Regions from separate parts of the Homo sapiens genome. Here all the other regions are linked to region 1. Evidence: promoter capture Hi-C in 16 types of primary human blood cells and fetal thymus (Javierre and others, 2016). All regions are on one chromosome and are shown on one strand. Each heading gives the region's core, a stretch centred on a gene start or on the middle of the fragment in contact. The rest is flanking DNA. Distances are from core to core; before and after follow the strand shown.

What was found. Contacts are between HindIII fragments. The CHiCAGO score rates a contact against its expected background, and 5 or more counts as called.
Region 2: a contact is called between a fragment that was not itself captured here and the fragment with the promoter of EPHA3 in region 1, in 1 of 17 cell types (M0 macrophages). The highest score is 5.1, in M0 macrophages.
Region 3: a contact is called between a fragment that was not itself captured here and the fragment with the promoter of EPHA3 in region 1, in 2 of 17 cell types (total B cells and naive B cells). The highest score is 7.2, in total B cells.
Region 4: a fragment that was not itself captured here is called in contact with the fragment with the promoter of EPHA3 in region 1 in 2 of 17 cell types (total B cells and erythroblasts); the score reaches 6.1 in total B cells.
Region 5: a fragment that was not itself captured here is called in contact with the fragment with the promoter of EPHA3 in region 1 in 1 of 17 cell types (naive B cells); the score reaches 9.4 in naive B cells.
Region 6: a fragment that was not itself captured here is called in contact with the fragment with the promoter of EPHA3 in region 1 in 1 of 17 cell types (M2 macrophages); the score reaches 5.1 in M2 macrophages.
Region 7: a fragment that was not itself captured here is called in contact with the fragment with the promoter of EPHA3 in region 1 in 1 of 17 cell types (naive B cells); the score reaches 6.8 in naive B cells.

The regions. Positions count from the first base shown.
Region 1 is chr3:89,105,922-89,109,020 of GRCh38, forward strand. EPHA3 (EPH receptor A3) reads left to right here and starts at 1,700. Exons shown (of 17, transcript NM_005233.6): 1 at 1,700-1,915. The coding sequence starts at 1,828. RefSeq lists an enhancer at 1,542-1,681. The HindIII fragment of the contact is 3,372 bases long and covers 1-2,547 here.
Region 2 is chr3:90,071,596-90,074,694 of GRCh38, forward strand. No RefSeq gene overlaps it. Among named protein-coding and RNA genes, the nearest start is that of EPHA3, 970 kb to the left of the region's middle. The HindIII fragment of the contact is 1,959 bases long and covers 538-2,496 here.
Region 3 is chr3:88,153,970-88,157,068 of GRCh38, forward strand. C3orf38 (chromosome 3 open reading frame 38) reads left to right here. Exons shown (of 3, transcript NM_173824.4): 3 at 2,052-3,099. The coding sequence ends at 2,666. Among named protein-coding and RNA genes, the nearest start is that of C3orf38, 5.6 kb to the left of the region's middle. The HindIII fragment of the contact is 1,595 bases long and covers 611-2,205 here.
Region 4 is chr3:88,170,259-88,173,357 of GRCh38, forward strand. No RefSeq gene overlaps it. Among named protein-coding and RNA genes, the nearest start is that of C3orf38, 22 kb to the left of the region's middle. The HindIII fragment of the contact is 5,278 bases long and covers 1-3,099 here.
Region 5 is chr3:88,186,428-88,189,526 of GRCh38, forward strand. No RefSeq gene overlaps it. Among named protein-coding and RNA genes, the nearest start is that of C3orf38, 38 kb to the left of the region's middle. The HindIII fragment of the contact is 1,912 bases long and covers 675-2,586 here.
Region 6 is chr3:90,010,406-90,013,504 of GRCh38, forward strand. No RefSeq gene overlaps it. Among named protein-coding and RNA genes, the nearest start is that of EPHA3, 900 kb to the left of the region's middle. The HindIII fragment of the contact is 8,521 bases long and covers 1-3,099 here.
Region 7 is chr3:88,240,485-88,243,583 of GRCh38, forward strand. No RefSeq gene overlaps it. Among named protein-coding and RNA genes, the nearest start is that of C3orf38, 92 kb to the left of the region's middle. The HindIII fragment of the contact is 4,837 bases long and covers 1-3,099 here.

The sequences.
Region 1 (3,099 bases), core at 450-2,949:
GATCTGCGTGTCAGCACATTGGCAGATTCTCCAAAATGTTTTCAAATTGTCAATTCCAAATAAGATTTTAGTTTCTTTCAAGTTTCAGAAAACGTGTATCTAACTTTGGAACAATGTAAGTGTTGTGCTGGAACTTTGAAAAAACACCAGAGTCACCACTGTCTAAGTTCTCTGGGCAGTATCTGCTATTATTTTCAATTCTGACAGACTTGGCACTTGAGGATTGCGCAGCCTCTGGTGACACAATGTGGAAAGAAGTTAGAGACACAAAGTAACATGGCATACACAGAAAAGTGAGAAGGATCTCTCTTTTCCCCTGGCTGCTTCTATCCACCCCAATTCCCCACCCCAGTCATCAAACTATTATCTGGCACCATTAACTTAAATTCAAGTGAAAATTGTGTTCTCTAACTAAAAACATTGAGTTTGTGGACTGAATACATTATTAGCAAGGGCTTTTCAAACTTTCATTTAAGTTTCATTATCAAGAGCTCTAAAATTGATCACTGATCTTAAGATTATCAACATACCTTTATTTTCTGAAGTTGTGAGAGGAATATAATAATCTTGTTTTCTTTTTAGTATAAGAAGAGATAGATGGGCGGAAGGATATCTGAGTAACCATTTTCTGGGAGATATTTTAAAGATAAGTGATGCTGGTTATTAAAATATAAATTACAAAATTGTTTGGCTGAACTAGATTGCAATAGGTTGTTCAGCAATGGGATTGGAAATAACAGAGACCATTGATAGTCATGGTGTAAAATAAGTGAGAAAGTACGAGGACATTATTATTTAGCTTTTGGATTTGGAATGTTAAAGAATAAGAATACCCCAATATTATTAGACTATCAGTGGTTGAAAGTTGAATGGAGGAGCTGTGAATTATGCATTGTTTCTCTTGCAGAACCCAGAGATCCTAATGTGAGATGGTGAGGGAGGGGGATATGTATTATTAAGAAATTTAGGTTTGATCTGTATTACTTTTACAACACAGAACGAGAAAAGAATGTAGACCTCCGGCTGGGGTTAGACTTGCTCCCTTCCGTAAGATGATGAAGGTCAACTTCCCTGTTTGAAAAAAAACAAAGTATGCTCTATGTGCGCGGAAAATCACTGTGCCAGATCTAGTAAAAAGCCACGATACCATTGGGTGTGGAAATGCAGAGACCCTCTGATTCAGGCTGTGTATTAGTGTCTTTCTGAATCACAAAGAACTCATGGAGAGTTATGATCACATTGAACACAGTAAAGGAATAACTATAATCATTTTTTTCAATTATACAAACATGATTGACTTTTTAACGAAAGACTGCTATTCTTTCAAAACACACGTTTCTCTCGCATTTCAGTTCCTTTTGCACTCACATTGCCATATGATACTCCTATCAAGGCTGTGATTTCTTCGGTGAATTAAGCAACAGAGCATGGATAGCAAACAATAAAACAGCTACTTTTCATGCAACACAAAAGAGGGAGCATTTTTCTCAGCACCGCGGCCTCATCACATCTTCTGTGTTTCCTGTCCCATGGGCGACGCCCCCACTCCCACCCGGTCTCCTTCCCGAGCAGCTCTGGGCTGCAGAGCCAGCTGCGTGCCATCCCGCTCTGCTTCAGCGCACGCTGAAGACGGCACTAGGACCCAGGGAAGTCCCCGAGCGGGGTTCGCGGAAAGGCAGCCAGACTCCTCCTTATCTCCAGTGTCAAACTTGACATCAGCCTGCGAGCGGAGCATGGTAACTTCTCCAGCAATCAGAGCGCTCCCCCTCACATCAGTGGCATGCTTCATGGAGATATGCTCCTCTCACTGCCCTCTGCACCAGCAACATGGATTGTCAGCTCTCCATCCTCCTCCTTCTCAGCTGCTCTGTTCTCGACAGCTTCGGGGAACTGATTCCGCAGCCTTCCAATGAAGGTAAGCCAGGTACCGCGACGCACGGAGCTCTGCCCCGCGGGGCTCACGCTCTTCAAAGCACGTTCTCACCGAAGCCTTGCACGTCGGGAAGGTGCCTCCGAATAGAGCAGTTTGCTCTGAGAGTGAAGGAAAGATGTGCCTTTTTTTTTTCCAACTGTCTTCTAAAACACTTCAGGAGATAATTTTAGATGGTCTAAACTTTGAAAATGTGTTTTTAATCTGACACCATTTCGAGCAATTACCTTGTTTGCCAATTTGAGCAGAAAGAAAGAAAGAAAATCCTCCAGCGTTGCAACCCAGTTATGTTAATTGCCAAATAGCCAAGGCAGTATTTTATTTTCTAATTATGACCATGTGGTACTCCGAGAAGTTTGAAAGAAAATTCAGCCTTCCTCTCTAGACTCTTTAGTATGTTTAAAGGTAATGACAGGTTGTTCCTACTTGGGATCATGGCATTTATGAATGGACTAAAGGGAAATCAGAGTTTGTCGAAGCGGAGGTGCGTGTTTATGGTGCAAGGGCTGTGTTGAAGTTGTGTGTATCCCGCCAGGCAATGGTTTGCTCTATGGTACAGGTTCTAAAGAGCAGCATATGCCACATTAACGTAAGTAATATTTGCAAGAATTACAATAAGCTTAGGTTGGATTCTCTTTGTTTAAAGGCTTATATACAAATAGGAGAATGTATTTAATGAATAGTGGATAGCTCCTGGGAAGATATAGTAAATAACTGAATAGTAGATTAAGAGAGAATGTTCATATGCAGCAAATGGCATTTCCTTGATGTTGTGTTATTTATTATCCTTGTAATGAGCATTAATTCCTTTTCAGTGGGTTAAAGTGCAAACCTAATGTTAAGGACACCAATGTGTTCTATAAGATTGTGTACTTAATACATACATTTTCTTTCTCCTGTATTCCTTTTGTGATCTATTCTTGTGAATACAGTCACTAACTCGTAAAACAAACTTCTCTAAATAATTGATTAGTGTAAAGCCACACTTACAACATTAATTTCCTCTTAGTGATTTTGAACTTATAACAGTAACATTTAGCAATTTATTTTGCAAGTTAACAATACCGAGCAACTGATGTGCAAACATCATGTTATATACATCACTCCTTAGAAAATATATTGTCAAGCCAATACTGTTGTATATGTACCTTAATTTTAAAAACACGAGT
Region 2 (3,099 bases), core at 267-2,766, 970 kb after region 1:
AGCTTCAGCCACCTTTTTAAGAGGAAATTGCTGGGCAAGTGGGGGAGGGCTAGTCATGGAACAAAACTGTAAGTGGTACCAGGTGGAGGAACGGAGGTTGAGGAAGAATTGGGACCTAGCTTGGCCTGGCGAGGAGGGGAGAGGTCAGATGGGTCTGTAGAGAAGGAAGATTAGAAAGACTCAGTGATGCTTGGGGTTGGGACTGAGGGGACAGGCAGGAGGGAAAGAAGGAAGATTTGGGATGAATCGCATTGGGAACAGAAAGTAGGGAGGGACTGATGTGTAAAAGAATGCCTGGAGGTCAGGCACCTCAGACCACTTGCCCATTTTACGACAAGAATTATTTAGATCTTGTAGGATGGAAGAATTGAAAGTGCCATTTTCTGGCTATTTGGAACCACTGTCGAGTTTGTATTGTGGTCAAGTGGCATTGCAGAAGAACATAGGCATTTAGGTTTTAGGTCAGGTATGAGTTGAAGAGATTTTAGGTTTTTAAGAACGCAGGCTAAGGGAGAAGAAGGGGGAATGGAGGGCGGAAGCTTGCCCATAGTGAAGGAGGCAAGCCCAGAGAAAAGAGAGAGTAAAGACAAGGAGAGAAGGGGTGGGGGGTTCTTGCCCCCCAGAAAAGCAGAGAAGGGGTCTGGGCATGGAAATAAGGGGGTAGGGCGCAGAGATAAGAGGTTGGGGCACAGAAATAAGGGATCGGGGCACAGAGATAAGAGGTTGGGGTGTGGAAATAAGGGATCGGGGGATTCTTGCCCCCCAGAAAAGCAGAGAAGGGGTAGAGACAGGGAGAGAAGGTGTTGGGGTTCTTGCTCCTCCCCCAGAAAAGCAGGACGTGCCCCTAAGGGTGAAAGACCAAGGCAGGCGTCCCTGCGTGGTCAGACACCTCTGAAATGTGGGTGAATAATCAGAGAGGTGTCCCTGCAATGATTAAACACCAAAGGAAGGCTGCCTTCCTGAGTCCATGACCAGCGCCGGAGTTTTGGGTCCACGGATAAAACGTGTCTCCTTTGTCTCTACTAGAAAATGAAAGGAATTGAAATTAAGAGAAGGGAGAGATTGAAGTGTGGCGCCAAGATTGAAAGGAGAAAGTGGTTGAGGGATAGTGAGAGAGGTTGCAGAAGAGAGTAAGAAGAGGCCGCTTACCTGATTTAAAATTGGTGAGATGTTCCTTGGGCTGGTGGGTCTGAGGACCTGAGGTGGTAGTTGGATCTTTCTCATGGAGCAAAATGCAGGAGGATAGGGGATTGATCTCCCAAGGGAGGTCCCCCTATCCGAGTCACGGCACCAAATTTCACCCGTGCCCCTGTAAAGAGACCACCAAACAGGCTTTGTGTGAGCAACAAGGCTGTTTATTTCACCTGGGTGCAGGCGGGCTGACTCTCTTTTCGGACTCAGCCCACCTGCGCCCAGGTGAAATAAACAGCCTTGTTGCTCACACAAAGCCTGTTTGGTGGTATCTTTACATGGACGTGAGTGAAATTCTCAAAATGCAGAAATTTAAGGAACAATGTTTCTTTGAGCTCCTTCTGAGGAATCTACTAATGAACAGCTTCAGTCAACGAAAATAATTAGAGACACTGACTGGTGGTGAACATTATACACTCACATGTAGACTTAAGAGTAGCTAGTGGTTAAAAGAGATGAAGTATAATACATAACAGCTACATGCTCTGACAATGTAGACATAGTATGACTATTAGAAATAGAAAATGAGGACCATGAATACAACAAAAATATTTAACTGTTTTCAGTCAGTATATTGGTGGTGTTAGTATTGTTATTCTAAGCAGTTAAAATATAAAGTGGTGGATGAAACAACTGAATAATTCTATCATCCTCTGAGCCCCTATAATTAATGATACTGAAAAAAACAAATGGAAGAAAGGAAGAAAGGGAAAGTGTAATAGAAAGAGAGAGGGGAAAGGGGAAAAAATTATTCATCTTAGGAGGATAACAGGAAACAAGAAAACAAATTTATTGAGAAAACTAGTATAAATTATCCTTGGCAAACATTCTGGAGAAGTTTCACCCTTGGCATCCTAGGCCTACACCCTAGGCTTAGTCTACTTTCTAGAGGACGTGAACTAAAGCCTCCCTCACTCTTTTTTATTTTTTATTTTTGCTCTGTCACCCAGACTGGAGTGCAGTGGCATGATCTTGGCTCATGGCAGCCTCACCCTTTCAGGCTCTAATGATCCTCCCAGCTCAGTCTCCCAAGTAGCTAGGATTACAGGCATGCACCACCATGCCTGGCTAATTTTTGTTTGTTTGTTTGTTTGTTTGTTTGTTTGTAGAGATGGGGTTTCCCCACATTGCCCAGTCTTCTCTGGAACTCCTGAGCTCAAGCAATTTGCCCACCTCAGCCTCTCATAGTGCTGGGGTTACAGGCATGACCCACTGTAACCAGCTTAAAGCCACTTCTTATTTAGTTCTCACAACAATCCCATAAAATAATTATTATTATCTCTATTTTACAGGTGACAAAAATGAAGCTTCAAGAGGCTAAATTATTTTCATAAACTCTCACTGCTAGTAAACTTAGCTATGTTTTAAATCCAGTTCTTTTCAACTAAAGCTCAGTGATTTTATTATGGCACATATGCACAAAAACACAAAATACAAGAGGAATGAAAAGACTGCTTTCCCAGTTCCTCCAGTAATTTCCACTGACTCAAATTTTTAAATTTGTATTAAGGTGTAAAATACATATGTAAATGTATAGCTCAATAATTTTACAAATTTGGTGCATACATATATATGGCTACATGGATATATATATGGATTACATAAATATATATGTGCAAATATATATATTTGGGGAGAATGTTGACTGTGAGGGGCCATGACAGCCTACTGAGATGCTTAACAGTAATACATCAATAATTACATGGATATATATGGATTACATAAATATACATATATGGATTACATAAATATATATATTCATTTTGTGCATATATATGGCTACATGGATATATATATATATATATATATGGGTTACATAAATATATATATGTGCAAATATATATATTTGGGGAGAATGTTGACTGTGAGGGGCCATGACAGCCTACTGAGATGCTTACAATTTTCAGT
Region 3 (3,099 bases), core at 158-2,657, 950 kb before region 1:
GTGATGCATATATAATCATCTATTGATATGTGAGAAAGTATTTTTCAATATCAGCATCATCAAATGAGGACTATTGGATTTTTAGAGAGTAAACTGCAAGGTTAATTTTAACTTTAGCTCCGTGTAATTTTTTTTCACTTTAGAAGAATTTTATTGCAAATTCTTTCTCACTTTTAAGACGTTTTTGGTATTGCAAAAATGTCATGAAAGGAACTTAAAATTTTACTTTAAAAAAAATTTTCTTTTAAGTTCCAGGGTACGTGTGCAGGTTTGTTAGATAGGTAAACATGTGCCATGGTGGTTTGCTGCGCCTATCAACCTATCACCTAGGTATGAAGCCCAGCATGCGTTAGCTATTTTTCTTGATGCCCCCGCCCCCACATTGGAACCTAAATATTTTTTATACTTTTTTTTTTTTAACTAGAAAAAGTCCTATTGTAGAAATATTCTCCAGCGGACATTGGCTGTTTCTGTTCTTTATATTATCTCCACTGTACATTTTAGATACTGCACAAATATTTAAGTGTTGCTTGAATTAACCTCTATGTAATTTGCAGATTTTTAAACTACATACCACATTTTTTGAATTAATGAGGTTTCACAGTGAGAAAGCTTTGCCTTCACACTAGGAAAGAATCTTTAAGAGCTTTCTTACTTTATGTACTGATAAGAGCATTGACTTTGAAATCATACAAATACGACTTCAAATTAGGGTCTGCAATATACTAGGTGTGTTAAATTAGGCAAATAACCAGTGCCACGCACAGTGCCCAGTGTATTAAATAGCAGGTGCTCAGTAAACCTAAGATCTCATACATCTCAGTAAAGTACTGTGTTGTGGAACACATGGATGAATGAGATCTAGTGTATCAGGTAGATTTTTACAGTAACTTTTTTTTTTTTTTTTTGAGACAAAGTCTGCCCTGTCACCCAGGCTGGAGTACAGTTGGCATGATCTCAGCTCACTGCAGCCTCCACCCTCTGGGTTCAAGCACTTCTCCTGCCTCAGCCTCCCAAGTAGCTGGAATTACAGGCATGCGCCACTACACTCAGCTAATTTTTGTGTTTTTAGTAGAGACGGGGTTTCACCATGTTGTCAAGACTGGTCTTGAACTCCTAACCTCAAGTGATCTGCCTGCCTCAGCCTCCCAAAGTGCCGGGATTACAGGCATGAACCACCACGCCCAGCTTACAGTAACATTTTCTGTGAAAAAAGAGAAATAATAGAATAAAATTAATCCCAGTTATAGAAAATAACCTGTTTCAATCACCGTAAGAGTATCTATTTAAAGACAATGAAAATGCTTGCTTATATTAACTTTATGTCATTTATATGCAAAATGCATCCATTTAAAGTGAACGTTTTGAAGGTTTTCACATATATACCTGTGATATACATATATACCTGTGAAAACACTGCCACAATCTGAGGAAACACTTACATAAATCATCATATAATTTATATATTTTTATATATGACTGTTCATACTGATTTTTTTTTTTTTTTCACACGGAGTCTCGCTCTGTTGCGCGGGCTGGAGTGCAGTGATGCTATCTTGGCTCACTGCAACCTCCACCTCCCAAGTTCAAGTGATTCTCCTGCCTCAGCCTCCTGAGTAGCTGGGAATACAGGTACACGCCACCATGCCCGGCTAATTTTTGTATTTTTAGTAGAGACGGGGTTTCACTATATTGGCCAGGCTGGTCTCAAACTCCTGACCTCACCATCCGCCTGCCTCCTCCTCCCAAAGTGCTGGGATTACAGGCGTGAGCCACCACGCCCGCCAAGTTCATACTGATTTTTAAATTGGCCTTACTAAACCTTACTCTCTTAGCTGAATTTTCAGCAATTTAAGCTGGAAATTTCTAAAATGATTTTTCTCCTCTTGAAAAAAGATTTTTACTATGCATAATGGGTTCAGCAAGTTCACATATGGTTCATTTCTCTCTGGTGTAATGGGTTCATTCAAACTTAATAGGCTAGATAGAAAAATAGATATGAAAGTTAAACCTTAGTGTTATTTTGTATTTATTTTATTTGTTTCAATCAGCAGGTGAAAGAAGATAAAAAAGCTGAAAAAGTTGATTTTCGTCGCCTAGGAGAAGAATTCTGTCATTGGTTCTTTGGACTTCTTAATTCTCAGAATCCTTTTCTAGGACCACCTCAAGATGAATGGGGACCACAGCACTTCTGGCATGATGTGAAGCTTAGGTTTTATTACAACACATCAGAACAAAATGTTATGGACTACCATGGAGCAGAAATCGTGAGCCTTCGTTTGCTGTCACTAGTAAAAGAAGAATTTCTTTTTCTCAGCCCCAACCTAGATTCACATGGACTGAAATGTGCATCTTCTCCTCATGGGCTGGTTATGGTTGGAGTTGCTGGGACTGTCCATCGAGGAAACACTTGTTTGGGCATTTTTGAACAAATTTTTGGACTCATCCGCTGCCCTTTTGTGGAGAATACTTGGAAAATCAAATTTATCAACCTGAAAATTATGGGAGAGAGTTCCCTTGCTCCTGGAACATTACCGAAACCATCTGTTAAATTTGAACAAAGTGATCTAGAGGCCTTTTATAATGTAATCACTGTATGTGGTACCAATGAAGTACGACATAATGTAAAGCAGGCTTCGGATAGTGGAACTGGGGACCAAGTTTGAGGTAGTGGAAATGAGACATTGCTGAACAAAAGAGAACTGGGTTTACCTGACCCTCTAAAGCGCTAAGTACTGTCAGCCTGAAAAAAATCTTCTATACAGAAACTCTTCCAAATACTATATCAGTAATGTCTGAATGATTTCAGATGTGAAAATTGACATATTTTAGTTGAAATACCTTTCTGGACTACAGACTTACATATCATGTGAATACTTACCTATTTCTACCCGAGTTGCAGCAAGTATTCTGAAAGCTTAATGCAAATAAATCCCACTTTAGATCTTACAGCTAACTGTGTGCCTTAGAAACCAGGTAATATTTTCCTTTTACTTAGTGAATATTCTGCTAATATCTGCACTTTTCATGTGGGAAAGGATTAATAATGGTCCAGGCTTCCCCTCTTTAAGTTTCATGTTTACTTTTGTCTAACTCTGG
Region 4 (3,099 bases), core at 388-2,887, 940 kb before region 1:
TCTTTTTATAAGTTCATATTTAAGAGCATTCAGAGTGTTTTCAGAAAATTCTGTATAGTGCAAATTTTAATAATAACTATGACTGTTTAAAAAATTACTATTTGTAGCTGGGTGTGGTGGCTCACACCTGTAATCCCAGCACTTTGGGAGGCTGGGGGGTGGGGGGGGGGTGGATCATGAGGTCAGGAGTTCGAGACCAGCCTGGCCAACATGGTGAAACCCCGTCTCTACTAAAGATACAAAAAATTATCTGGCATGGTGGCAGGCGCCTGTAATCCCAGCTACTCGGGAGGCTGAGGCAGGAGAATTGCTTGAACCCGGGAGGTGGAGGTTGCAATGAGCTGAGATCGCGCCAGTGAACTCCAGCCTGGGTGACTGGGCGAGACTCAGTCTCAAAAAAAAAAAAAAAATTACTATTTGCAGATGTGAGAATGTACGTATATATATACACATGTACACACGCATACACACACACATATATATTTTGAATTTTGTGCTATGTGCATATATTATCTGGTCAGAACAGATACAGGTATAAACAAATAATGAAGGCAGTTGTTAGTGTATAATCAACCTTACCCAATGAGAGGTCTGACCTTTGCCCCTAGCTCTAGGCTCTTGTAATGTTCTGCAACATAAGAGTGTCACTCCTCAGGGCTTTGGCTGTGGGACAGTCTAACAATGTGATTTATGATAGGTTTTGGGCTGTGCCATATCAATTTTTACCTACCTCCAGAGGAACTTGAGTTCAAAGCTATTAGCCCAACTTCTGGGAGGAACTGTAGACTAAAGTTCAGCCACACAAACAATAAATAGGTGATCAAGCCCTAATAAAAACTCTGAACACCAAAGGCTGGGATAAGTATTGTCCCACATTGTGACTGGAAAGAGATAAAGCCATCTATGACTCCATGGGAGAGGGACTGGAAGCTCCACATTGGACCCCTGCTAGACTCTGTCCTATATTCCTGTGATGCTTAATTTTAGGAGTCAACTTGACTGGATTCAGGGATACCCAGATAGCTGGTGAAGCATTATTTCTCGGTATGTTTGTAAGGGTGTTTCCAGAAGAGACTGGCATTTGAATCAGTGGACTGAGTATGGAAGATCTACCCTGATGTAATGTGGGCAGGCACCATCCAATTGTCTGAGGGCCTGGATAGATCAAAAAGGCAGAAGAAAGGCAATTTGCTCACTTTGTCTCATCTGGAGTTGAGACACCCAGCTTCTCTTGCTCTTGGACATCAGAACTCCAAGTTCTCCAGCCTTTTGGCATCAGGATGTGCACTAGTGCCCCTTGGTTCTCAGGCTTTTTGGATTTGAACCAAGCCATGCTACCAACTTCCCTCATTCTCCAGGTTGGGACTTCTCAGCCTCCATAATCATGTAAGCTAATTCCTCTAACAAATCCTCTGCCATATTTATCTATCATTTATCTATCCTATTGGTGGTCCTGTTTCTCTGAAGAATCCTAATACCAGGAGTGATTCTAGAGGAACAGAACTGTAAGGATGAGCTTCCTAAATTGGTTTTGGGACTTCTGGAATTGGCTCTCTAGTGTGATTATATTTAAAAATGCTAAGGACTCTGTTTCCAATAGTACAGAGAGCACTGGTTGTCCATGGCATGAACTGTTATACAGATATCAAAATATCTGCATTAGATACTCCTAATCAACCACTTATAAGAGGCAGGAAATCAATGACTCTGTATATAATACTTTTGAATGTTTATGAAAAACTGAGTGTATTAGTCTGTGTTGTGTTACTATAAAGGAATACCGGAGGCTGGGTAATTTATAAAGAAAAAGGATTTATTTGGCTTGCAGTTCTGGAGAGCTAGAAAGTTCAACTTTGAGCATCTGCATCTAAGGGCTTCAGGTTGCTTCCACTCAAGGCAGAAGGTGAAGAGGAGCCAGCATCTGTACCTCATATGACAAAAGAGAAAGGGGGGCAGTGCTGGGCTTTTTTTTAACCACAGCTATTTCTTGGGAACGAATAGAGTGAGAACTCACTTACCCTTTTCCACCCACAGGGAGGACATTAATCTATTCATGGGGGATCCACCCCAAGGACCCAAACACCTCCCATTGGGATCCACTTCCAACATTGGGGGTCAAACTTCAACATGAGGTTCGGAGGAGACAAATATTTACCATAGTGCTAAGGAATATAATGATATTTATTGGTTGTTCCTAATGTTACTGCACAAAGTAATGAAAGAAAAGAATGAGTTAAGGGATTCAAATTCCCAGCTCAAGCAATGCATACATGACCTCAGAGCTTCTAGATGTACCCTGTGGAAATTTTCTCTACTGGAGCCATAGGGCTAAAATTGCTAAAAATCAAACACAAGTCCTCATCATGCGATTGGCTGAATTAAATGAAAGTTGAATCCCTAGCCTCATAGGGCATCTACTGTTAAAGTGAGGGCATTGATTGGGAAAGAATGGGATCCTGTAAGTTGACTTGAAGACATGTGGGGAGACATGATGAAGCTGGGGACATTGAGCACTTAAATTTTGGTGAGTCTTTTTTGTGAGCAGAAGTTGCCTTCCCACCCCCAGAAGCAGTGGCATTCTTACCCACAGTGGTAGTGGCCTTTCTACACTTAACCCTGCATTGTCTAAGGAAATAATAATGGCCCCCTGAGGCATTTGCCGAGAAAGACAATGCTGATTCTCCCCATACCCACTTCTATCACCTTTTTGCTTTTAGGCTTATAACTAGACTCAAATCCCAGCAGGCTCCTAAAGGTGAGGTACAAAGTCTGACCAATGAGGAGGTATGCTACACTCCAAAAGGACTATTTGAATTTTCTAGTTCGCACAAGCAGAAATCCAGGGAACATGTGTGGGAATGAATATTAAGTGTATGGGATAATGGTGGAAGGAACATAAAGTTTGATAAGGCCAAATTTATTAATATGGGCCCACTAAATAGTAATTCTGAATTTAATGTTGCAGCTTAGAGAGTTAGAAAGCATACAAACTGGTTGGTTGATTGGCTGAAATATTAATCAAAAGGTGGCTCACCATGAGCAAGTTGAAGATGCCTGATCTCCCTTGGCTTAATGTGGAGGAGGGAATTCAAAGTCTTA
Region 5 (3,099 bases), core at 381-2,880, 920 kb before region 1:
GTAAGAGAGGACACAAACAAATGGAAGAATATTCCATGCTTATGGATAGGAAGAATCAATATCATGAAAATGGCCATACTGCCCAAAGTAATTTATAGATTCAATGCCATCCCCATCAAGCTACCAATGACTTTCTTCACAGAATTGGAAAAAACTACTTTAAAGTTCATATGGAACCAAAAAAGAGTCTGCATTGCCAAGACAATCCTAAGCAAAAAGAACAAAGCTGGAGGCATCATGCTACCTGACTTCAAACTATACTACAAGGCTACAGTAACAAAAACAGCATGGGACTGATACCAAAACAGAGATATTGACCAATGGAACAGAACAGAGGCCTCAGAAATAACACCACACATCTACAACCATCTGATCTTTGACAAACCTGACAAAAACAAGAAATGGGGAAAGGATTCCCTATTTAATAAATGGTGCTGAGAAAACTGGCTATATGTAGAAAGCTGAAACTGGATCTCTTCCTTACACCTTATACAAAAATTAACTCAAGATGGATTAAAGACTTAAATGTAAGACCTAAAACCATAAAAACCCTAGAAGAAAACCTAGGCAATACCATTCAGGACATAGGCATGGGTAAAGACTTCATGATTAAAACACCAAAAGCAATGGCAACAAAAGCCAAAACTGACAAATGGGATGTAATTAAACTAAAAAGCTTCTGCACAGCAAAAGAAACTACCATCAGAGTGAACAGGCAACCTACAGAATGGGAGAAAATTTTTGCCATCTACCCATCTGACAAAGGGCTAATATCCAAAATCTACAAAGAACTTAAAGAAATTTACAAGAAAAAAACAAACAACACCATCAAAAAGTGGGCAATGGATATGAACAGCCACTTCTCAAAAAAAGACATTTATGCCGGCCTCAGACACATGAGAAAATGCTCATCGTCACTGGTCATCAGTGAAATGCAAATCAAAACCACAATGAGATACCATCTCACACCAGTTAGAATGGCAATCATTAAAAAGTCAGGAAACAACAGGTGCTGGAGAGGATGTGGAGAAATAGGAATGCTTTTACACTGTTGGTGGGAGTGTAAATTAGTTCAACCATTGTGGAAGACAGTGTGGCGATTCTTCAAGCATCTAGAACTAGAAATACCATTTGACCCAGCAATCCCATTACTGGGTATATACCCAAAGGATTATAAATCCTGCTACTATAAAGACACATGCACGTGTATGTTTATTGCAGTACTATTCACAATAGCAAAGACTTGGAACCAACCCAAATGTCCATAAATGATAGACTGGATTAAGAAAATGTGGCACATATACACCATGGAATACTATGCAGCCATAAAAAATGATGAGTTCATGTCCTTTGTAGGGACATGGATGAAGCTGGAAACCATCATTGTCAGCAAACTGTCACAAGGACAGAAAACCAAACACCGCATGTTCTCACTCATAGGTGGGAGTTGAACAATGAGAACACATGGACACAGGGAGGGGAGCATCACACACTGGGGCCTTTTGGGGGTGGGTGGAGGGCTGCGGGAGGGATAGCATTAGGAGAAATAACTAATGTAAATGATGAGTTGATGGGTGCAGCAAACCAACATGGCACATGTATACCTATGTAACAAACCTGCACGTTGTGCACATGTACCCTAGAACTTACAGTATAATAATTAAAAAAGAGCACAAAATGTGTCACACTGGGATAATATTATATGAGGCACTTGGAATAAAAGCACGTATTGAAGGAGTACAAATAAAATTTCTAATCGTGAAAAAGGAACTTATATGTAAATATGTAAATAGATACTGATGAGTAGAAAATTCAACATTAGTTATATTTTATCTATTATTTTTATTTATTTATTGTATATACTGAAGATGTGCAACATGATGCTTTTATACATACATACATATATATATATATATATATATATATATATATATATATATATATACACATAACATTAATACAGTCAAGCAAACTACCTGGGAATTGTGTATATTTGGAATCTGGTAAATAAAAAGATGTTTAGTGCAATAGAGGAATCTAAGAAGCACCAGGCTAAATCTTTCTGTGAAGTTCCTTTTGTTCCTGAATCACGCTTCTCATGTTCTCTTTTGACTGACAGATCCACCACAAGAGACATCTATGACTGGGATGAAAGGAATCATCTTTGCCAGGAGGGGCTGGCTCTGGGAGGACTCGAGGGAAAGCCTTGGGGCAGACGCCAGCCGTCAGAGTTCACAGCTGTGGTGATGGCTGCAGCAAGGGGAATTTTACTCATGACTCAGGAGGAGTCAAGGGACAGTACTGGACGCAGACACAAGGAGGGACACTGAATTCGCAATTTTTTTTTCTCCCTGTTGTTATCTAAATCCTGGTTTCTCTTTTCCAAATTGATGTTCTTTGGATTGGCCTCTCAGTTCTTCTTCATTAATAGTATACCAATGATGGATGATGGCTATGAAGCTCTAGAATGCCACTCTGTCTGTTGCAAATCTAAAAGAAAGTTATTTTACTCACCAAATATAACCATTACTTTGCTGGAAGAGGGTATTCTGGAGGAACTGTGAAAAATTAAATGTGAATGAGGAAAGCTTTTATAGCTAGACAAGGTGGTGGAAGTGGAGAGGGAAAGGTTTGTAGAATGTAAATGTTTAGTGGTCTACAGTAAGGTTGGCAAAGACTTGATTCCAAAACTCCTCCTCCCTCCTTCACCTTCAACCCATAAAGGACACCAGTAATCAATGTTCTCATTCTTTTCCACTGAACTCAAAGGAGGTCACACATTCTTGAATACATTTTTCCAGGCATCATTCCGAATCAACTGGTATTAGATAAAGAGGTAAAATCCAATCGTCATCTTGAGACAAGAAGTCTTCTCACGATCAAAGGTTTTTCTTGATCCAAGGATTCGGGGTCTCACGGGCTTCAAGGAATGAAGTTGTGACCGCAGTGGCGAGTGTTACAGCTCCATTAGAGAAACGCGCGGACCCAAAGAGTGTGAGGGGGCAAGATTTATTAAAGCAAAAGTGAAAGTAAAGCTTCCACGCGGTGGAAGGAGACCTGGAAGGTTTGCCGTTTCTGGCTTGGGTGTTTTAGGCTTCT
Region 6 (3,099 bases), core at 229-2,728, 900 kb after region 1:
AATTTTTAGGAAGATGAAAGTTTTCCAGGCATAGGAAACTGCAAGCGTAAACGTTCTGTTCCTCTAGAGGAACAACAGAGATCAGTATGTCTGGAATGCAGTGAGCCAAGTGGCATGTAATATAAGCAATAAGAGGGGTGAGGTGGGTGGAAGAACAGTGGAACTTATCATGTAGGGCGTTGTGGCTAATAGTAATTCAATGACTTAAACTCTGAGTAATATGGGAAGTTATTGGAGAGTTCTGAGCAGAAGAATGGCATGATCAGACTTTTGCCAAAAGTCCTGTAGCTAACAATAGACAAAAGTGTCCTCTAATCATCATAATCAAGTAAACTATCTATTCCAGTTAGAGAAATACTGCTGTCAATTCTCTTATAATTAAGGGCTAATTATAAAGAGCTCTGTAATGCAGTGACCATACATACTTTAGAAGAGAATTTCCCTACCATTCACACATAACTAGAACTTTGGACTCCAAATTCTATTTTGATGTACCTATCATCATTTAGAAATATAATTTACAAAATGCTGATTACAAAATATACATACTCTGTTTTATTCAAAATTAAAACTGTGAAAGGATTTAGAGAAAATATTCCCTTGGCCTTATGTAGAATAGTCAGACAATTTTGTGGCTTTTTTATTGGTAACATCCACAGCTAAGTGATAACTAAATGTTCCTATTCTTCTAGTTGACGGGCAGTAAATATTCAAGACAATGATGAGGGCATCATCCAGTGTGATATTCCGGATGGAAGTCCACACCACGTAAGTTAGTGTCCCTCTTGTCTCTCACATGAGCTGAATTTTCAGGAAAGCAGAGAAGTCAGGCAATCAGCCAACGGTCTGTGTTGCTTTCATTACAGACCTGCAAAGCATTTAAATCTTCAGAAGAGAAAGTTTCTGCCTTCTTAAAACCAGCTGTACACCAGCCACTCTCAATGGTCCATGAGGCACCCAGCTCAGAGAATTCCACTTCCCCCTAAAGATCGGTCAGAACTGCTGGGAAAAGCAAGCACTTCAAAGTAACACAGAGGTCTGGTGAATGTTCGGCTCACTTCAGAAAGCATTTCCCTGCTCAGAGATAAGGGGGGAAGCTGCAATATTCTGAAAGTTTGCAGAATCATGGCATTGCTCCCACCTGCTTTTCTGTTTCACCCTGAAACTTAAGTCAATCAGGAGGCCTGCTTCGTGCACAGTTGAACACAAATAATAACTGTCTGGGAAAATACAGCAAAACAATAGACATCTTTACAATTACGATTTGGGTGCTGGAGCATACATGTGAAACAAATGTGCTACCAAAGACTGTGACTTCCAGAATCTTGAAAGTGTTGTATAGTATTTCCGACTGCCAATTGTGTAACTGGCAAGTTGGACTTCAAACTGTTTTCTCAATACAGTTGACCCTTGAACAGTGCAGGGGCTAGGGGAACCAGCCTCTGGTGCAGTCAAAACTCCACATTAATTTTGACTCCCCAAAATCTTAACTGCTAATAGCCTACTGTTGACGAGAAGCCTTATGATAACACAAGTGGTTGGTAAACATATATTTTGTTTGTTATATGTAATATATACTGTATTCTTACAATATTGTAAGCCGAAAAAAAGTTAAGAAAATCACAAGGAAGAGAAATATACTTATTATTCATTAAGTGGGAGTGGATCATCATAAAGGTCTTCATCCTCATTGTCTTCCCACTGAGCAGGTTAAGGAGTAGGAGGAAGAGAAGGGGATGGTCTTGCTGTCTCAGCAATGGCAGAGGTGGAAGAAAATCTGCATAAAAGTGAACCCACACAGTTCAAACCCATGTTGTGTAAGAGAATACATTTCTCTTTCCTTTTTACCTTATCTGTAAATGATTAATTCCCTTTTCTAGAATGACAATAGCTAAAATTCCAATTCAACATCTACACAGCTACCTCTAAGGTCTCATCGATGGTGCAAGAGATTAACTGGACCTGGTAAAGATTCTCTCTGGCACCAAGGGACTGGCTCTGCAGGAATCCAGCTGGCCTCTTTTGTTCCACAGAGTAAACATAGCTTATTTCATTTAATCTCAATCACATACTATGGCAACTATGTGCATAGGTCCCATCTTTGAAGACATCCAAAAGGAAGATATTCTTATGCTACTTGTAGTTTATTGTTTTCTTTCCCTTTTTTTTTTTTTTTTTTTTTTTGGAGACCGAATCTTGCTCTGTTGCCCAGGCTGGGGTGCACTGGCACGATCTTGGATCACTGCAACCTCTGCCTCCCAGTTTCAAGCGATTCTCCTACCTCAGCCTCCTGAGTAGCTGGGATTACAGGTGCAAGCCACTACACTCGGCTAATTTTTTGTATTTTTAGTAGAGATGGGGTTTCACCATGTTGGCCAGGCTGGTCTCGAACTCCTGACCTCAGGTGATCCACCCACCTTGGCCTCTCAGAATGCTGGGATTACAGGCGTGAGCCACTGCACCCGACCTCTGGTTGTTTTCTTAGAATATGATTGCCTACTCAAAATAATTAATTAAGACTATAGAACTGCTTTTAAAAGTTAGCGATGTGATAATTAAACATAAATCATCATCATTCACATAAGAATTTAAAATAGTCCCAAATGAAGAGACAGCTAGCATTAAAAACAATTTCTACTTTTATGAGTTAAATCAATGTCATAAGCAAAATAGTTTTCTTTTAAAAAATTATCTGTTCTCTATCTTTAGAATCTTTCTGCCAAATCCCCTTCCCACACTTGTCAAGTCAAGTATATCTTACACAGCCCACATTCTCCCACATCTAAATTATTTGGGTTTGATTGCCAGCCACATGAAATGTTAATCAAAGTAAATAGTTATCACTTATTTTTAGATAGGGTGACACCTGGCATTTTTCTTTCCTCACTATCTTCTCAAAACCTCTCTTATTCTGATAATCAAACGTAACCCCTTTCTTATCTTCTCCAACAATGATCAATGGCTTCCCTCATTTTTGTTAATTTGGACTACTCAAAAACAAAAGTATCTACCATTTTAATATGATTATTGTAATTGAGGTGCAACTTGGTGTGATTTAATATAACAATACATTGATACGTAGCATTAGGAAAAATATAG
Region 7 (3,099 bases), core at 211-2,710, 870 kb before region 1:
TGAAGGTCAAAACAAAAGTGTAGGAATTTCCCTTGTTTCCATCCCAGACAGAGCTCTACACTGTTTTCTCTTTCTTATGGGGGGACTGGATCAAGCCTAAAGGTATAAATTAAGTTAACAAAATGTAAACTGTTCAGAGATAATAGCATTTTGTTAGTTGATTCACGAAGATGAATCTTAAATGCAAATGGTTTGTCAAGGAGGAAGATAGAATAATTTCAGGACTGTTGTAAATTATTTTGTCAGCTACCTATTTAAACCCTATTGCCGTGAGGCCTAAGAAGAATTTTCTCACCTAAAGAGGATCTTTGGGGTCTTGTAAATCTCTTCTGTAACCTCTTTGTCTACCTTAAGGCTCTCAGGGTCACACAATTTCTACAAATGTTGATTATGTGAAATAAATCCACATTCTGAACCTGTGAGAGCACCAAAATAGTTAAAAATGGATGTAAAATCCCCACATTCACATCGCAGTGTTTATTCCATTTGCTGTACACAGAGAAATTTTCCAAACCAGTGCCTCAGGTGGGAACTAGATCTTAAACCTACTCTTAATATTAGAGCTCAGAACTAACCATATAGTTTATTCATCCTAATCTTAAATCTTCTGTTTCAATGGAATATCAAAGATAAAGCTAAAAAGAAAATATTTTAATATTTGGAAATATACTTTTTAATGTGTATGGTTTCTCTAGAAAACAAATGTCCTATCAGCTTATGTCTAATACAGTGAGATTAGAAGGAATGCTTACTATGTCTGTTTTACATTGGGTTAAATTCTACAGCTGTTGCTATCCAGGCAAGGTCCTGAAATCTTAACTAATATATTAAAACTAATAGCTTGACATCTTGTTTCTATACCAGTTATCTACTTATCTAATGCTGTGGCTGTGAAGGTTAGCACACCATTCACAAGGGTCTCAGTTTTAGTGAGAATTTAAGGAGAAAATAGCATCATATGACAAAGGTGTGTTTCGTCTGCTTATCCAGTGTTCTAAAATTATGGGAGGACAATTGGGGTCTTGAATGGGGCCCAAAGAAGTCTGTTTTGTCAATTACCTAGTTATCTAACTGAAGTTTGCTCTCTAATGAAAACTAAATTGCCTACTTCTATATTGCATAATCTTTAACAGTTGAAACCAAACAGAATACATCATCAATCTTCCTCAGATAGGACCCGTACATTTTCACAAAGGCAGGATATTTTCTGTTGATAGTACTCACATAGGAAACTGCTTAATGCACCACAACATTTTTTAAGGTATGGTTCATGTCTCTTGTTTAGTGAAGCATTTGAATGATAATCAATTTGACTGATAATCCATCAATGAGGTAAGGTGTAAATGGGAGCATGCACTCTGACCTCAGATAATGTTAACCTATATAAGCCATTGAGCTGGGACATTAAGTATAACTTTAGTTATGCCTAAATTTACTTGTGGAAAATACATCATTTTGATTATTGTTTACTAGCAATTTATTAGCATTTCATAACACTTAATTATGAAAACAAAACATAATTTATCAAGTCTTTTAATTCTCAGGTTTCTGAAAAGCATTTTGGCCAGACATGGAAATGATTAACCCCATCATTTCATTATCCATCTACTCATCCATACACACTTACATACTTACATAATGTAAAACATTATGACACGCCTGCAGTGTTACGTGCTCTGCTTTATGATCTGAAAATATGATAGTGAATAAGACAGGTACCTACTCTCAAGATGCTTATAGTCTATATTTAGGAAATGTTTGGGTAGCAGACATTATTTGATTGCCTTCCTGGCATCTAGTTGTTACTTCCTTTTTCTCAACACGGGTTTGGAAAACTATGACATTTGGTGAAGCTGTTGTTAAACTAACCACCACATTTTGTCTCTCTGGTTCAGTTGTGAGCATGGGAGCTACACTGGTTCAACTAGAGTAAATATGTGGACTTTTGCTTAGAATTAAATTAATGGTGCTATTTGTCCTATTATAATCGTCCATGAAAGAGAATTCACATTATAGAAAAACAGATGAGACTCAGGTGACTTTTAGCCAATAAATGGACCAGCTCTCTTAGTGTATTTAGTCATAACAAATGTGTGTCATGATGTCATCCCATAAAATGCACATTAGAAATTCTAGAATTACTTTAATTTGTTAAAACACTAAGTGATGGAATTTGCTTTATTTATCGGATTTGGAAAGAACTATGAATTAAAAAAATAACATAAAACTAAATTTCCATATACATTCTTGTTAAGAAAATCTGGGGCAACAATTTGATGTGACATTGTTACCTAAAGCAGCTCAGGAATTCATAACTTTAAGAATTAGTTAAATAAAAATTCCTTTAAATCCAGCTGAGAGGTTTAACCACTTGAGAACAAGGCCAGAAATGGGAGAGGTAGAGGCAAAACACCCAAGAACCTAGTAAGTATGAAATAGGTAGTTGAGTGGGTAAGTGAGAACTTTAAGACTCAGCAGTCATTTAGAATTAAAATACCTTTCACTGATTTTTTAATATCTTTTAAAGAATAGTTCCCCTAATCCTATTATTCCTGATCATGACTATTGCTTTTCAGGGCTAGAGTTACAACTTCATTTTACCAAATTGTTCCTTTTGTTAGAATCTTGCACTTGGAATGTAATATCATTCCTCTTGGTGGAAACTGACGCACTTTACCATGTGTTTGGAAAGCCCTTCCATAGCTGGGGGGCAACCTGAGCAATGTTTATCACCCATTCCAAAGGGGGTTATGGGTGGAAACCAAGACTAGATTCTAATAACTCAAAGCATGTAAGAAGACTGGATTCTGGTAACTCAAAGCACCTTGAACTGTGTTTGTGTAAACTCTGGGCCATATGGGATACCACCCACCTATGGGAGACATCATAATGGAGAAGTTTACCAGTAGATTGAAACAAATGCAGATGATATTGAATAGACACAAAGCCAGACTGCAGGTGTTTGGTGTGTTGACAGAGTTAAAAAAATATGCTAGAACTGAGCTTCTCAAATGATCTGTGGTAAAAGTCCAGGTTTTTGTGATATGGTTTGGCTGTGTCACCACCCAAATCTCATCTTGAACTGTAACTCCCACAATT